Regions from separate parts of the Homo sapiens genome. Here region 1 is linked to region 2. Evidence: promoter capture Hi-C in 16 types of primary human blood cells and fetal thymus (Javierre and others, 2016). All regions are on one chromosome and are shown on one strand. The core of a region is centred on a gene start or on the middle of the fragment in contact, and the rest is flanking DNA. Distances in the headings are between cores, read along the strand shown.

Evidence for each region. The method cuts DNA at HindIII sites, captures the fragments that hold promoters and counts their contacts. A CHiCAGO score of 5 or more calls a contact.
Region 1: the fragment with the promoter of TSPYL1 here is called in contact with the fragment with the promoter of MAN1A1 in region 2 in 1 of 17 cell types (activated CD4 T cells); the score reaches 9.9 in activated CD4 T cells.

The regions. Positions count from the first base shown.
Region 1 is chr6:116,275,928-116,281,803 of GRCh38, forward strand. TSPYL1 (TSPY like 1) reads right to left here and starts at 4,003. Exons shown (of 1, transcript NM_003309.4): 1 at 1-4,003. The coding sequence starts at 3,903. The coding sequence ends at 2,590. It also overlaps a transcript of DSE not described here. RefSeq lists enhancers at 3,367-3,416, 3,437-3,706, 3,937-3,996. The HindIII fragment of the contact is 6,415 bases long and covers 1-5,332 here.
Region 2 is chr6:119,346,723-119,352,362 of GRCh38, forward strand. It overlaps MAN1A1 (mannosidase alpha class 1A member 1), which reads right to left and starts at 3,039. Exons shown (of 13, transcript NM_005907.4): 1 at 2,820-3,039; 2 at 1,741-2,565. The coding sequence starts at 2,343. RefSeq lists an enhancer at 1,510-1,859 and silencers at 2,070-2,189, 2,250-2,449, 2,960-3,599. The HindIII fragment of the contact is 6,871 bases long and covers 1-4,715 here.

The DNA.
Region 1 (5,876 bases), core at 2,753-5,252, 3.1 Mb before region 2:
GTATTTTATTTTACTGTATCACTCTGTTAATTCTTTGTTTGCTTATCAGTCCTTCCCCAGTTCCCCAAAGAAGGGAATGGACTTTATCTTCTTACTCTTTTTCTCTATTTGTGGAATTCACTGTAATGAATAATTATGTTAATTTTCTAGAACAGAGGTCCCTCCAAAGTACACTAAGTGCATAAAGAAACATTTATCTCCTCTATGGGGAACAGAAAGACTTTGGCAGAGGAATTACCAAGGGCAGGCCTTGAAGGATTTGACAGAAGAGAACAGTGAGGAAGTTTAAAGAAAAAAAGGAAGTTTTTACAGATGAGAAAGTATGAAAATAGAGGAGTACATCACATATGATAGGTACTCCCTGCATACAAGTTAATAAAAAGAAGAGCCTGAATAACCTGAGAATATAATTTATGGAGACAGAAATGGAGGATTTGAGCAACTGAAGGGGAGGTTGTGCTGCATAAACTACATGGAAAAAAGTGATTGAGTAAGCAGTTGCAACTGCTAACGTTTTAAGGCAAACTACCTTGGAAGGTACCAAACATACCGTGCCCTGCTTTCTTCTCTTTGGGATAATGTCTATTGTGTCCATTTAAGGACTTTAATGATTCTGTAATTTTTAGTTAACATCAATTTAAGGACTTTAATGATTTTAATCCATTAAGAACTTTAATGATTTTAATCCATTAAGAACTTTAATGGATTAAAGGACTTTAATGATTCCATAATTTTTAATTAATATGAACAACTTCATTCAAGCATTACATTTATGGGTAAGGTGAAAAATAAGAAATCTAGCAGAACAACATGCTTTTATTTTACCATCATGCATAAAAAGGAAGACAAATATGCCAATGGTACACTTCCAATTTGTCAGAGCAATTTCACAGTATTTAAGCAATTTAGGAAAAAAGATATATCACTTACTAAGTTGTTACCAGGGAAAATTATCATGTAAGACAATCAATTAAACCATACTTTTGTAGATTATTTTTCCATGAAGGCAATTTGACAAGCCTAACAAAGACCAAGTTGTTCAAACTATGTTTCTAGGAATATAGTTTAACAGAAACAAGAACAAGTTGAAAACTGTTATGACTATTCATATGTCTCTATATTGTACAGGCAAGTAAGACTGTTGTTCTTCCAAATGTTCCCAATTGAAATCAAAAGAATATCTGTACAGCTCAATTTTCACAATAAGTTTAGAATCAGAAAAAAAAATTTTACTAAATCCTAATGAAATAACAATCTTCCACATAAATTAGGTCACAAAACAAGTAAGAAAGCATTCAAAGTTGCGCTGTCTTTCTTTAAAGAACCCTTGTCTAGGCAACATATTTAACACTTTAACCCCTTCAATTCTCCCTGAAAAGTATTTTTCCATTCATCATCATTGGGGAGTAAGTACTCCTTCCTCGAAAGCTCTTAACGACAGCACAGTCTTCACTCTAGGCCCAATTTTTACCTGGCCCATGCCTCTAGCCTTTTGTTCAGTTTCTCCTGCTTAGGGCACCTTTCATCCCATCTAGATGTGTCTCTCTTTAACTATTCTAGGAGTTGATAAAAGGGCTAGGAAGTAGGAAGTTGGGAAGAAGGGGAGGGGCGTAAGAGCTCTAGCACTCTATTTTACAGGCCAACTTCTTTGCCTCTGAAAATGACAGAGCCAAAATGAAATAAAAACCTTGCTTTTACAAATGTTTCTGAGCTATCACTTTTTTAAGAGAGGATTGGGAGGCTAAGGAGGGCGGATCACGAGATCGGGGTTCGAGACCAGCCTGGCCAGCATGGTGAAACCCCGTCTCTACTAAAAATATAAAAATTAGCCGGGCGTGGCGGCGCGCGCCTGTAGTCCCAGCTACTCGGGAGGCTGAGGCAGGAGAATCGCTTGAACCCGGGAGGTGGAGGTTGCAGTGAGCCGAGATCGCGCCACTGCACTCCAACCTGGGCGACAGAGCAAGACTCCGTCCTCCGTCTCAAAAAAAAAAAAAAAAAAAAAAAAAAGGAAAACAGGGAGAGAGAGGGACCTTGGCAGGAGCCAATGTAGGGCAGGTAGCAATAGAAAGTGACTAGAGGTGAAGGAAGAGCAATGAAGTACCATAAATCACACAGAACAAGTGGCTCACTGCTTTTCTCCTCTGAGTTCATTAACGTCCAGTAACTGTCCACAGGGCATGTGCCCATACTGCTCAATGCAGAGCTGAGTAGGTGGAACAGGCTCCCAAAGCTAGAAATCCAAGTGACAGCAACCAGTTCAGAGGCCCTGGGAATAAACAGGGTCCAAGCAGTGCAGATAAAGGCAGTACAATCTACAGTATCATTTGCTTGGCTTACAAGTAGTGTGAAGGATGACCTCGTAGCATGTGATATTCCAGAACAGCATGAAGGTCATATGGAAGTGGAGAAGCATACCCACCACCGTCTCAATCTTGAGGTTGAGAGAACTGAATATCCAAAGGAAACAGGGTGCAGAAAAGTCAGCAAAAACAAAGCACAATAGAAGGCATACTCATTGCTGATGCCCAAGCACAGGTCCAGCAGAAGGTGGTAGGAGACCTTGTGCAGGAGTATTCCCAAGGGCAAATGTTAACCAGACTGGAACCCAAAGGGCCTGGGGATCTCTACAGGCTCCCTTAGCGGGCGACGTCGGGCTCTACGGACTCCTTCACGCAACAGGTAGTATTGCAGTGGATTTGGCCACAGATCCTCTTTAATAATCTCAGCAATTTTGTCGGACTCTGGAAGGCTGTGGTCTGAAAACCAAGTGAAGAAGCTGCAGATGAGGTCTTGGTTTCTGCGAATGAAGGACTGGGGTTCATGCCCCCTGCGCCATATAATTGGAGTAGAAAGAGACACCACTCGGCCGGAGGATCTTACCTCATATTCCTTGACAATCAGCTTGTTTCTGAAGTAGGGGTTTCTTCTAAAGAAGAACTTGAACTTGCAACCGGTTCTAGGGTGTCTGAGTTCCTTCACCTCTAAATTGGTTATGTACCTTAACATCTCTGCATCTTGGCCCCTAATCATGGCGGACAACTGGGGGTGGTTTCGAAAAGCAGTCATCCAGAAGCCCGGGATATTCTGAATGATGTAGTTCCTCCGCTCCAGGTAGTGTCGACGCATCCGCCCAAACTTGTGCTCCAGCTGTTGGAAGGCCCTGTCGGCCTGAGCATTCACAGTGTCCAGTTCCAGCTGGATGGCCTCCAGAGGGTCCATGCGGAGAGCCTCATGCAAAGGCCAGGGCCCTTCTTCCTCCCTCGCCTCCTCCTCCAATCTATCCTCCTCCGCCACTTCTATTTCTTCACCTTCTGGCGGCTGCTCCTCTACCTCCATCTGCTCCTCCATTACCTCCTTCTCCGCCAGGCCTTCCTTCACCACCTCAGCGCTCTCCCTCTCAGCCACGGCTGCTGAGACGGTGGCGCACTTTCCTGTCTTCACCTCCTCCGCCTCAGCCTCCGCCCCCGCCGTCAGCTCAGACGCGGATCTCTGGGCGCCACAGATTTCTAGGGCCTTCTCTCCACCCTGAACGCCCTTTTTCAGGCTGCGGTCGGCTGCCATCACCACAGAAGCGGCTGCCAGGCCTTCGGCGGGAGGCTGGCCCTCTTCCTGCCCGGCTTTGATCGCCACATGACCGCGACCCCCAACAACTCGGATCTGGGGAGTACCGCCACGGCCCGCGGCATCCTGGGGTACGCCCCCCTCCTCTGAAGGCGGTGGAGGCGGGAGCGCGACGGTCTCCGAGCCTCCCTCACCCGGCTCCGCCATCACCTGTGTCGCCTCGCTTTGGTCGCGGAGCCTCAGGTACTGGTGTGCGTCCTGGTCGCTCGGGACTTGGTCAGAAATAATGATGCTGTGGGTTTGGAGGGGAGTGGTCCTCTTGACCCCATCCAGGCCGCTCATGTTGCTAACAGTCGGACCAACCGCAGGCGAACGCCCGTTTTCCTCAGAGGCCGAACTGGGAGCTAACCGCCGCTCGCACCGCCCACCCTACAGTCTCACTAACATTTCAGCGGCGGTGTCGTCAGGACTGGAGATCTCACGGTATCGCGAGAACTTGCTGAGCCCGGGATTGGTTCCGCCGCTCCCTGCCAGCCAACCGGATTCTCTGGGCTTTATTTCTGTGAATTTACCCATAGCAACAGTAATTTTACCTACGTAAATAAATGTCGATTGTGCTGAGTCTGGAAGCGCGGACGACCCACCTTGAGATGCATCTAGCGACTGCTCCCAGCATGTAGGAGCAGTTGTAAAATCACAGCCGTAACAGTGCCTGCTCTCCAGTGTCTGAAAACAAATGTTTTTCTGGTCTTCACTTTTTTGAGGCAGGAAGGTAAATCTATTCCCTGTTACTCCACGTAACTAGCAGCAAAAGACTTCTCTTTAAGATTAATAGCAAAATGTTTCCCCCCTTCTTAGTAAAAGTGACATAAAAATATCAATTCTTGCCTCTACGGTTACTGGGGAAAAAAAGCTACTCAGCAGCCTCTTACCACTAAAGCGATGCATAGTATTCATTGCTAATTTTCGATTTATAATCTGCATCAAATAAGAGTTTGTGCTGCATAGTATCGGTAGAAATTAAGCCAGGATCAGTTTGCTAAATGTTCCATGCCTTTTCACTGCAAGAAAGAGGAAATTATAACTATTTCCAGCCCCAAGAACTTAATTTATTATCATATTTAGTTATGTAAGATAGGAATGTTTGGCTCTAACGAAGCATCTGTCTTTAGCAATCAGCTGAGTTCATTAGAGGGGGATGTCAATGTCTCTGGTTGAAGTGTTCCAGTTTGTTGACTTGTGAGTTAAACTGGTGCTGTCTTAGAGAGCTACAAGGCCTCAGAGAAATATCAGTGGGGGGAGCCACATACCACCATTTTGTGAGGAAAGGCTAGTTAAAATGGACAACTAAGATGGCCTTGAAGTAGAAAACAAACTTGCAAAGGGCAACATGCAGCTGGTGGACTCAAGGTATAAAAGAGGCAAACGTTATTTTCTACTTAATTTGCTTTGTGTGGTAGTAGCCTGATGGCCCTCAAAGATGTACCTGTCTTAGTTATGCGGCCAAAGGGACTTCGCAGATATGATTAAGTTAAAGATTTGGAGATGAGAAGATGATTCTGGATTATACAGGTGGGCCCTATGGAATTACAAATTTCTTATAAGAAGGAGGCAGGAGGGTCAGTCAGAGAAGATAAGAGGACGAAAGCACAGAGAGAGGGAAGGAATGGTGGAGAATAGGTGTGGGAGGGAGGAAAGGGAAATCGCTATGTTGCTGGCTTTGAAGATGGAGGAAGGAGCCAGGATCGTAGGAATAAAGGCAGCCTCTAGAAGCTTGAAAGGTAAGGAAATAGATTCAATCCTAGAGCCTCCAAAGGAATGACAACACCTTGAGGTTATTACCTCTAAACTCCAGCACTATAAGAAAATAAATTTGTGCATTTTAAGCTATTAAATTTGTGGTAATTTGTTACAGAAGCAATATGAAATGAATACACCTTGGATTAAGGTTTGGTTGCATCTATGGGTGCCTCAAGTTGTTTCTAATAGCAGCCCCTTCTACCTTGCTCATGGCTTCCCGTGAGTTCCTGCCCAACAGCTGTGATGTATTACAGCTTGAATCTGTCTTTCAATATCAAGACCAGAAATATACTTAGGCAAATGCACAGAAAGACAAAATTAAAGCCTAAACATACCACAAACGATATCTGAGGAGACTGTAAACTGCAAGAGGACATGATCATGGTTTCGTTTCCCTCTGTTTATCGAGTGCCTAGCACACTACCTTACACAGTATCCCATAGATTATTAAAATGTTAAATAAAGGAGCAAATGAGCAGAAAACAGTTTCTCTTGCTTGCAACTTGCTCCTTGCG
Region 2 (5,640 bases), core at 1,789-4,288:
AACATCTATGTATCTTTCGTATTAAAATCTTTTCCTCGGACAACTGTGATTTTTGTACTAGCTAACTGGCAGCTCGTATGACTTTGGAGGCATGAAATGTATGAATTACACCGTTCAAATTTAACAGAAACACAGGCAGATACAGATCATTTGGGTTAATTTCCTATGGTTTTGGTTGGATATTATTAAGGAGTCTGGGAGGATTTGGTAAGAGGTAGAGCTTTGTTCCACCTTCCTGATTTGGTAGCACAGGCAGGATTTCATGGAGAAAGGAAACTGCTAGACAGTTGTTCTGGAAAGTAGAATCCATTCCCCCAAGTATGGGAGGGTTCTGTCCCTGAGGAGGGGTCTCAGAAAAGCAGATATGCTGATGGACTGTGGAAGGAAGCTATCTGCATAGGAAGGATGAAGACATTCTTCCTAAACCGAAAGGGATCCAAGTCCACTTTAACTTGCTCAATTACAGCTTAACCAAATTCAGCTGATCTTATAATACAAAGTCACAAATCCCATGACAATCCTGCTGCCTTCATTCTGCAGCCACTTAAGCTAAACACCTCTCAACCACCTCAAAAATCTGTTTACTCTCTGAAAATGGGATCAGGGACTTCCTCTCCTGATTACCTACCCAATATGAAAATACAATATTTATTTTCACAGATCGTATTATTTTTTAAATGGCAAAAATATTACTTCCATTCATATTTTAGAAAATTGAACCAAGATTTGGAATGACATGCTTTTAATGTGGTTCCTACAGCTTTTCTATGTAAAACGCAGGCTGGCACCGTTTCACACAGGGAAGTAGCTCAGAGAGGAGGCATGTCCACAGACCGCGTGGTGACAGGTGACTGGGGGAAGTTCGGACCTCGGGCTTCAAGTCCTGACTCATCACTAACGGGTTCTAGAGCTCTGGGCCCTTCGATCTTCATCTTGAAAATGACAGCCTGAAAGGACTTTTTACGGCCCCCTTCAGCTTTAAGCTGGTCCTGACCTAATCACATGTTTCAAGTTCTAACTGAAAATTACGAGAAGGAAATTAGGAAAGATGTATCAAAGTCCATGTTTATCCTGGATTAACTTTGTCACCATTGTGCTGCTGTGGAGGCAAACCTGTTGCATCACATGGAATACCCTATTTCTGGCTGTGCATTAGAAATACAAGAGGCAGCCGACTGGCTTTTTATATTTTCATTTTTTAAAAAAGTAAACAATAGTATCCCTCGATGATGGGAAGTTCTCAGGTTTCACCTTTATAGTCTGAAAGTACACACAGAATGCCACCTGGCAGACAAGGGCCACACAGCTGAACCCGGGGTATGCTGGCTAGCTTTACCACGCGTGAAGACTCACTTTAAAGCCACGTCCCCAATCCTTACCAGGGGGCTGATCAGTGCCGTCGCTGTTACTGGTGGGGCGATTAACCGTGTAGCGGCCAGAGAATGAGGTTTGCGTATTACCTGCCCATGTATTTATACCCACCTCGTGTGGCTTGTGGTCACCAGAGCAAGAGCATGCAAATTAAAAGCAACGAGATTTGACCTTAGATCTTACTGGACACATCTACTACTATATTGGAAACAGGAAAAGAAAGAGCTTTTGACACAGCACCTGGTGGAAGGGGCAAACCTCCATCTCCCCATACATTGCATTGTTGCAGTCTTCAGAGTTTCAAAGGCTTGCCGTTTCTCCCTGAAAAACACGGCCGGTCGGGAGGGATTTCTGGCGCGGCCCACTCACCTCTTTGATCTTTGCCCTTTTCTCGCGGATGGCGGCGTCGGCGGGCTCCCGGCTCTCCACCCCGATTGGGGGCACGAAGTCCACCGGGGGCAGGCCTCTGAACGGCGCCTTGTCACGCAGCTGGTCCTGGGCCACCTTCTTCTTCTCCAGTAGGATGTCTCTTTGGATCTCCTCGGGCAGCTTCTGCAGGGTCTCCTTGGCTTCCCTGAGAGCCCGCTCGTGGTTTTCGCGGATCCTGGCCAAGTTGTCCTCCAGGGCGGCCTCCGGGTCCCCGGGTGCCCCCTCCTCGCGGCGCCGGGCTCGCCCCTCGGCCGCGTCCTCGGCGCGCGCCCCGGGCCCGGGCTTGTGGTCGGCGGCCGGCTGCAAGGCGGGGCTGGAGTGGAACAGGACCCCGCTGAGCAGCTTGGAGGAGTCTGGCAGGAAGAAGATCGCCCCGAAGCAGAGCGTGATGAAGGCGCTGAATACCAGCAGCAGCACGAACTTCTCCGTCAGGCGGAGGGCGGCGGGGCCCGACCCCTTCCTGCCACCGCCGCCGCCGAGCCCCCCGCCCAGGACGCCGCCCGCGGGGCTGCTGAAGAGCGGCAACAGGCCCCCCACGGGCATCGCTCCCGCTGTCCAGTGGTCCGGCGCCGCGCCGCTCAGCAGCCAAACTTCGCCGCCGCTGGGAGTCCGCGGCTGCGGGGCTGGGTCCTGCGTAGCCAGGCCGCCCGACCCCCTCGGCTGGGCTGCGGATCCTCCCTGGGGGAACAACTCCGCGCCGGGTCTTCTCCCCGGGGCGGCTCCTCGGGCACACAGGCACGCGCGACAGACCGCTGGCTGCAGCCCCTGCGGGGAGAGAAACAGTAAAACGTAGTAATTACGGCGATGATAAAGTTTCCAGCGGGTCTCCGCCCTCCGACTCCTGGCGAGCCTCCAGGACCGCTCCCCTTAAGCAGAGTCCTGTCCAGTCCGGGCACCGCCCTCGCAGCCCACTCTCTGGACTTGGGGTGAAGTTATCAGGTCCCGTGGGTAGGGGAGGGGTGTCCCGCGCAGGAAGGGGTCAGGGCAGCGCGCGAGCACCTCGGGGAGGGGCAGCGCACCTCTGGGCAGGAGGGGCGCAGCGTGGGCGGGAGACTCGTCAACTTCGCCCGCTCCCCATCTCCGCGCTGAGACTGCTGCCTCTTTCCTAGGCTGGGCTGAGCGCGCTGTCCCACGGTCCCGCAGCCCCGGCGCGGCTCAGGTGGGCGAGCGCGCCGACCTGCGGGCGAATGGCAGCGAGTAGAGCAGCACGGTACACTCCGCCGCGGCCCCGCGAGCACTAATCTCACTGCCGGTCTTGGGGCGGTGGAAAGCGAGGGAGGCGACGCGGCCGGAGAGTGACGGCGCGGCCGGGCCAATCACGCGCCGCCCAGGGTCCCGCGGGGGCGGGGCCGAGGCGAGGAGGGGGATGCGCGGGGCGGGGAGTTTACGGGAAGCGCAGCCTCGGCGGGGCCCGGCCGGCGGCGGGGAGGTCGCGGGGCCGGGAGGCGCGAGGTAGGCGGGAGCCGCGGTGAGGAGGACGGTCGAACCCGTGGCTGAGGCCCAGCGCCGAGAAGCGGCAGGCAGAGTTCGGGGTCGGGGAGTTTATCCTGCGCTGGCCTCGGCAGGGGTCCCCGGGGTGGTTGATCCTCGACTGGCCCGGGAGGCGCCTGGGTCCGCGCGGGACCTCTCTGCCTCCTCCTCCGACCCGTGCGGGGCGGTCGGGGGCGCTCCCGAGGGGGTCCCGGGAAAGGCGGGGTCTGGCAGGGGGTCCTGGGCGCTGGGTCGTTCAGAAGCACGGCTTTACTCCAGTTACCCTCTTTTTATCCAAGGCCGGGGTTCCCCGGGTGCCTGGTAGCAGTGAAACCCCAAGTCCCTCGGTTAGGGGAGCCGTGACCCTGGGAGCTTTTGAGCTCTCTGGTATAACATCCTTTTACATCCTAAGAGACACAGTTCTGTGCTTGCTTAGGACTTTTTTCGTATGCGCCCTTTCTTCCCCCAAAAAACAAAAAACCGAAAAAACTTGTATGTCTCTCCCGCCCACCCGTACTTTCACTATTCATTTACCTCATAGAAGTTGGTCAAATTTTCCATTCGAAGACGAGTTTTATGCTGCGGTAGCTTCAAGCAATAAGTCGAACACTGTGTTGAAATTAAGTCTTGGATCCGACTACTTCCAGCGAAGTGAGGAGTTGGTCCAATAGAAATTATTTTCCAAAATGTGTTGTAATTCTCCTGTTGCTCCACAAATAAGGGGTTATCAGAGAGGAAAACGTTGACTGACTTCGCATTTCTGAAAGCTGGTTTGTAGTCGCCTTATTTCATCCTTACCCTTCTCTGGAAATGTGACATTAGTTCTGTTTGTGCTTAAGACAAAGGAAACAGCTGGCACCTTTCGGGAAGGTGGCTCCAGTACAGTTGTTTCCAGGTGTTAAGCTGTATGAGAAAGTAGAAAAGTAATCAGAAATCCTTACTAGTTTTCATTTAATCATTTAATTATTAATTTTAACCATCATTATTTGTCGTCTACTTGTTTTGTGTAAAATGAGTAATACACTCAAAGTTCTTGTTAATAGGAAATTATTGTTTGATAAAGCTGGCTTTATGGCTTGGTTATTTTGATACCTGCTATGAAATTCTATGTCCAGAAGAGTGCAGCATATCCAAGCAGGGTAATAAGTTCAGAAGGACTGAAAAAGAAAACAAAGATGATTTTTCTTTAATGATGGAAAGGCAATTTTTATTTCAAACGATTATGCATTTGTAGGTTGTGCATAGGCTGAAAGGTTTGAATCACTGTGAAATAATGTTTCTAACAACATCCTTAAAACTGAGTTACCTCTTGAATGGATAGATAAATAGGAACTGGGTTAACTACCCCAAACGCTAATCTCTTTATGATCATCCTTTTTTGGAATGATTTATTATTTTAAAAATTATGTTGTAAGAATGGAATTATAGCCCCGGAAATATTTAGAAGCTTTATTTCAAATTAATGTTATTAAGTATTCCAGCAAAACAATAAATTCCACTTTTAAGTATATGTTAAAATGGTGATAAATAAAAGTTATAACTTAATTCTATTTCTGACACTTTAATTTTGATACCAAATCAGTTTGGGCATTTAACTTCTGTAGTGGAAATATTAAAAATTTAGTACGTGGGTTTAAGGATTTTTTCCCCTAAAAACTTTAAATTTATCTATGTTGTTTCTACATCTTTTAAAGTAACTATTCTTTTTAAGTTCATCATGAAGCTTATTTTAAGATTTTTTTCTTATTTTCCGTATTTCTTAAATGACAGGGTTATACTTGCAGCCTGGCTTTGATAATATGTTAAACAAGAAGTTAACATGGGTGGTTGATTATAGGTACATATTAAAGGGTGTCTGTGTACATTAGGTGGGATAAGAACTATATAGGAACACCAATATTTGGGCCAGAGCAAATTTGAAAAATTCACAAAGAAGGTATCTGAAGAGGCATAGCAATCGAATTATGCATCCTCTTTAAAATAATCACATGAAGCCCTGTGTGCTCATGGTAAGGGAGGAGTAGAAAATAGTCAACAAGTAAAATTGTGCATTTTGTAGAAGCAAAATCGGACACTTTCCTCTGATTTCAGTACTACAAAGCACTTGACATTCTACCATTGAAAAAAGTACTTTGTACCCTGAGATAAAAATAAAGGTGATTGGTTCTTGTCTTTTAAGTAATGAAACCTTGACTTTGTCCCCTAAGTCAAGACTCCCTAGCCACATCTACCTGAAGGTAATGTCACCATCTTTATGAATGCAATGATAGTGCTGAAATTGCTGTTTCTCATTATGGATGGTCTAATGTAAACCTAAGAACCTTAGTAATTTTGTGGGATTTTTAAAAAAATACTTGCTATGTTTTTTTA